Regions from separate parts of the Homo sapiens genome. Here region 1 is linked to region 2. The links are contacts of gene promoters, found by promoter capture Hi-C in blood cells and fetal thymus (Javierre and others, 2016). All regions are on one chromosome and are shown on one strand. The core of a region is centred on a gene start or on the middle of the fragment in contact, and the rest is flanking DNA. Distances in the headings are between cores, read along the strand shown.

Evidence for each region. Contacts are between HindIII fragments. The CHiCAGO score rates a contact against its expected background, and 5 or more counts as called.
Region 1: a contact is called between a fragment that was not itself captured here and the fragment with the promoter of SLC36A2 in region 2, in 3 of 17 cell types (M2 macrophages, M1 macrophages and M0 macrophages). The highest score is 8.2, in M2 macrophages.

What each region holds. Positions count from the first base shown.
Region 1 is chr5:151,516,377-151,519,076 of GRCh38, forward strand. It overlaps FAT2 (FAT atypical cadherin 2), which reads right to left. Exons shown (of 24, transcript NM_001447.3): 20 at 1,244-1,389. It also overlaps a transcript of SLC36A1 not described here. Among named protein-coding and RNA genes, the nearest start is that of MIR6499, 4.4 kb to the right of the region's middle. RefSeq lists an enhancer at 795-964 and a cis regulatory region at 880. The HindIII fragment of the contact is 2,238 bases long and covers 296-2,533 here.
Region 2 is chr5:151,346,269-151,348,968 of GRCh38, forward strand. SLC36A2 (solute carrier family 36 member 2) reads right to left here and starts at 1,291. Exons shown (of 10, transcript NM_181776.3): 1 at 1,029-1,291. The coding sequence starts at 1,192. It also overlaps a transcript of SLC36A1 not described here. RefSeq lists an enhancer at 804-1,717. The HindIII fragment of the contact is 1,251 bases long and covers 980-2,230 here.

The sequences.
Region 1 (2,700 bases), core at 165-2,664, 170 kb after region 2:
GTGGTTGCACACACCTGTAATTCCAGCTACTCCAGAGACTGAGACACAAGAATCACCTGAACCCAGGAGGCAGAGGTTGCAGTGAGCTGAGATCATGCCACTGCCCTCCAGCCTGGGCGACAGAGTGAGACTCTGTCTCAATAAATAAATAAATAAAAATTGCAACTCTCCTCACCCCTGATGCCCCTCCATTTTTTCCTTTTTGCTCATAATACTTATCACATTTGAACAAATTCTATAATTTTCTGAGCTATTATGTTTATGTTTATTGTCAGTCTCTCCCCCATAGAACAAAAGCTTTAAAAGGGATTTCTGTCTTTTTCACTGATGAGACCCAAGCACCTAGGACAGTGCCTGTCACATAGTAGATGCTCAATAAATCTGTTTTGAATGAATTAAAATCTAGTGGCCAAAGTTGGCTTTCTCTTTGTTGAAATGGTAGGTTGGGGCTGAGGGCAGTGGTTCATGCCTGTAATCCTAGCACTTTGGGATGCCGAGGCAGGCGGATCACCTGAGGTCAGGAGTTCGAGACCAGCCTGGCCAACATGGCAAAACCCCATCTCTACTTAAAAAATACAAAAAATAGCCAGGCATGGTGGTGTGTGCCTGTAATCCCAACTACTCGGGAAGCTGAGGCAGGAGAATCGCTTGAACCTGGGAGACAGAGGTTGCAGTGATCTGAAATCACACCACTGCACTCCAGCCTCGGTGACAGAGAGAGACTCCATCTCAAAAAAAAAAAAAAGAAAAAAGAAATGGTAGATTGGCATATGTGATAGAGGTGTTAAAATCACAGGCAGACTGTGACCTTCCACATGACATAATCCAAATAACTGAATGATTATTACAAAGGAAATTTATTTTTCTTCCATGTGATTCCATGGGGTTTGAGCACCCCCAGTGGTAAGCAATCCCCCCATCCCTGGGAAACACTGGCCTATTACTCAGCAAAAATGATAACGGCACCAGGGCTAGTTGACCTCATCCATCTCCATTTCTATCTTACCCCACAGAGTAAGCAGCCCCACTTGTGACCGTCCTTGGACGTATATCTCCAGGTTGGGTGGCTGTGGCCATCCAGGACAGGATAATCATGTGGCCCAACAGTCACACCCAGAATCCCTGAAAACTGTGCAGGGATTTCTTTGGCAGAAATGGGCTTCCTGACATTCCTCATGCCTCACCCCCTACCTCCCCAGCCTGGGACACCCACATGAAATCTCTCAGGCTGGCAGTGCCTTACCTTCAGGGAGACGGACGCTGTTTCATTGGTGAATAGAAGAATGGCCTGTGGCTGGAGTGTTTTCAGATAGAAATGGATGTGCCAGTTCCGAGCCGCTGGGGCCCTGTACCGCACATAGCTCTGACCACTGAACCTTGTAGCAGTACCTGAGAAAGCAACCAAAGCTGTCACCTCTACTTGAAGTGGTCCCCATTGAGCCCTTGGACTGACTTTGTCTTATTTAATCCTTGGGTGGCAGACAGAATCATTGCTCATATTTTATACATGAAGAAACTAGGCTGGGTGTGGGGTGTGCCATACCTTTCTAGCCTCACACGTAGAGCCAGACAGGAGCCTTCACCCTACCTTTTGTTGACTGCAGGGACCCCTGCCTTAGGTCCCAGGCTGGGTCAAGAAATATGAATTTAAACCATTAAGAAAGCAAAAGTCATCCAGGTGAGGTGGCTCATGCCTATAATCCCAGCACTTTGGGAGGCTGTGGCGGGAGGATCACCTGAACCCAGAAGTTCGAGACCAGCCTGGGCAACAGAGCAAGACCTCATCTCTAAAACATAAAATAAAAATAAAAATAGCCAGGCATGGTGCCTCATGCCTGTAACTCCAGTTACTTGGAATTACATCCTCTCAGCTGAGGCAGGAGTATCACTTGAGCCCAGGAAGTCAAGGCTGCAGTGAACCATGATCTTGCCACTCTATTCCAGCCTGGGTGACAGAGAGAGACCATGTCTCTAATAATAATAATAATAATAATAATAATTTTTAAAAGAAAGTAAAAATCAGGCCAGAAATGTAATGAATCAAGTGTGTGAAAATCAAAATTTTTATTCTACATAGTTTCCATGTTATTTCTGGTGTTGGGAATCTACACTGGGAATGTAGATACTGCATGTGTGTGTGATTTTAGACCCACAAGGGTTTTTGCCTCAGGATAGTTCCTTGTATGAGCAGGAGTTAATCATTTAGGTAAACAATAAAATGCGGCTGAGAGGTCAAGAGCCACTCTATGATAAAGAGAGAGGGGCAGTGATAGACTGTATGGCCAAAACTTTTGTAAAGTCTGGCATCCTCCATCCCGCCTTAGCAATGGCTAATGCACAGTTGCATAGTATGGAGTAAACTTGAGTTTCTTAAGCATCTTTGACTGTGGGACACTCTTATGTGGACCACTCTTGGGAATAGCATTCTGTTGAACCCCCTTTGGGAAGCACTGCCCTCCCCAGATTTTAAAAAATATCCACCCTCCCCAGAAGTGAGTCCAGCTATGAAATCCCCAAAACCCCAGTGTAAATAAGCTTGTCAGTTGTCAGGGGAGAGGATGAGCGGTCCAGCCTCTAGATACCTAGCAAAGAGGAATTGTTGAAGAGAGAGAACAAAAGCCAAAAGGAGGAGAAGAAAGAACCAGAAAAGATGAGGCACAAGGGATTATAACATCCACACATTCCAGCTGGACGCAGTGG
Region 2 (2,700 bases), core at 41-2,540:
ACTTCCAGGACTAGCCCTGGGGCGACAGCACAGGCAGCAGGGCCAGTCACTGTGTCCATCCCTAAATTGTCCTGCTGGATGGCTGTGGGGAGGGGCTTTGCCTGCCCCTTACAGTCCCTCCCTGCAGTGCACCCCCGAGAAACACATCCTCCGATTTTGTTTCCATGCACCCTCCTTTAGTTCACACTGCCACCTGTTTTGCATGTCAGAAAACTGGAACTTAGAGAAGGAGCAGAGAAACCACTTGAACTCAGGCCTTCTGATTCTCTGTCCAGTGCTCTTTCTACTATCTAGTGGTGCAAAAACTTTCTTCTTAAAGCAGCAGAACCTCTTCACTACCACACCCCACACCTTTTGTTCCTAAGTAAACTAGCAAGTCTGGTTGGGTGGTGGGGTCAGATGTGGGGAAGGGAGCTGCAGCCCTGTAGCTTGGCTTCCCTCTTTTTTTATGTTTTGGAAGCCTTGTGAATAACCCCCACTCCCCACTCCCTGGAAAGTGGAAAAAACTAGAACTTTCCACAAAGTGTGTTTTTTAGAGTCATCTATGCTTCTCAGTTGAAGTAGAGGCCAGGCTTACTGCAGGAAGGAGGCAGGGAGGAGGAAATACTTAGTGGTCAGTGAGGCCACTGTGGTTTTAAGCTCAGGACTCACCTTCTCCTCCAAGTAGTTAGGGATTCTACCTCTATCCCCAATCTTAACATCGCTGGCCAGGAACAAAAATGTGGCTTTAGGGCCAGCACTGAATTCTAGCCCTTATCCTGCCAATGACTCAGTATGTGGTCCAGGGTAATTGAGCCTCAGTTTCCCCACCTGTGCCTTTTGGGATCTGGATCACTATGTCCCTAAGGGCTTTTCTGACAGCCTTTACTTCTGCCTCAGCTTGACTCAGCCCATGACTGCACCTTTTGCAACCTTGGTTTCTCATCTGCACAGTGGGTTGAGGGTCAGACACACCCACCTCAGGGTTTTTGCCAATGCAAGCTTCAGGCTAGAAAGCAGAAATAGGGATGGCAGAAAACAGCACTCACGTTATGCCCTTGGTCTTCTTCAAGCCTGCTGACTCTGAAGGACTTTCATCCAAGAATGTAGAGTCCTTGTTCTCCAACTTCTTGGCACTTTCAGGAGGCGACATAAGGTCCAATTTGATGGCAACGGCTCCCTGGGGACCCTCAGTACTTTTTGTCACAGACATGACTGCTTAAGAAACAAGGAGCTCGGGGTGACAAAGAGGTCTGCTCTGGAAGGAGGGAAGCAGGAAGGTGTCTAGTGTAGATGTACACCCCAGCACAGTGGTGTGTGCCCGGGCTGGCTCTGGCCAAGCTGGAACGAGGCCCCGCCCACCTCCCTGGAGGGCACCTCTTCCTGCCTGGAGAAGCCAGTGGACGAGGACTCCTGGGAAGAGGAGGAGAGGAAGGAGGGATTTGGAAAAGGCATCACCCATTCGTATTGGTATTACTTAATAATAATCATAATGATAACTATTATACTGATAATTTTAATAACAAATATCTATTAAGCCCTGTACTAAGGGATAAGCAATCCTCTAAGTGTTTTATCTACATTTTCTCATTTAACCCTATCAATTAAGTAAGGAGAAAACTGAGGTTTCTTGAAGTAAAGGAATCTGCCCGAGGTCAGATAGCTAGAAAGTGACAGAGTTGGAACCTAGCCCAATTTGTCAAGGTTTTCAACCAGTAACCTATTTCTGTCTCCAAGAAAATACCTACAAATCCCTCTCCTTTTATTCATCTCAGGGTAGAGGTTTCCATGTCTCACTGGCTCCACAGTCTGCTGTAAGACATCCCTTCTTGCAGCACCCCATTCTTAAATTGGAACAAAAAAGGGACAGTCACTCAGTCATCTCTAATTAATTCTTAGCTTTTGTGAGGCTCCATGGAGTGAGTAAAGAGTGTTCTTCTGGAAACGGGGAAGAGGCTGAGATTGTATGACTCCCAGCCACAGTTTGCTGGGCAAGATACTGGCGCCAGGAGGTGGTGAGATTTGTCTAAGGTCACACATGAAATCCAGGATAGAACTCTGCAGCTAAAGATGGTCTTGGGCGTTTCTCTAGTATCCCACTCTCTGTCATTATCTCTGCTTCAGTGCAGATGAACAGGCCAAAATTTCCTCCTCCCTCAAAATTACAGCTTTTGACTCAAGCCATACCACTCTCTCCTCCATCATCTCATCCCCAAAACTAACATTTCTTAAGGGCTTATTACATGCCACAAGCTTTGCTTAGCTAATGTCACTGCTAACTGGTAGCATCCAAGACAGATTTGTCAGGCCCCTCCCTTACATGGGGCTCTTTCCAAGGTCCTGTATGCAATTTTGAATGGACAATTTTGTATTGCTTTTTTCTTAAAGAGGTCCTCCTTACCACTACTTTCCCCTTCTCCATGGGATAAGCTTCAAGCTCCACAAAGCCTGGCTACTTCTGTGGGTTAGCTTTGTTAGTTTGTTTTTACAGATGTGGAAATTGAGGCTCAGAGAGGAAAAGAATAACTTGCTGGAGGTCACAGCTGGAACTCGGTAAATCCGAACTCCCCGCTAGCCAGGTTTTTTTTGGTTGTTGTTGTTTGTTTTTTGTTTTGTTTGTTTGTTTTTTCTGAAGCCTGCAGCTTTGACCACAGCACTGTCTCCTTTGTTTTAATGCTGGCCCCACCCTGCCAGCTTCTTGTCCTGAATCAACTGAAACAC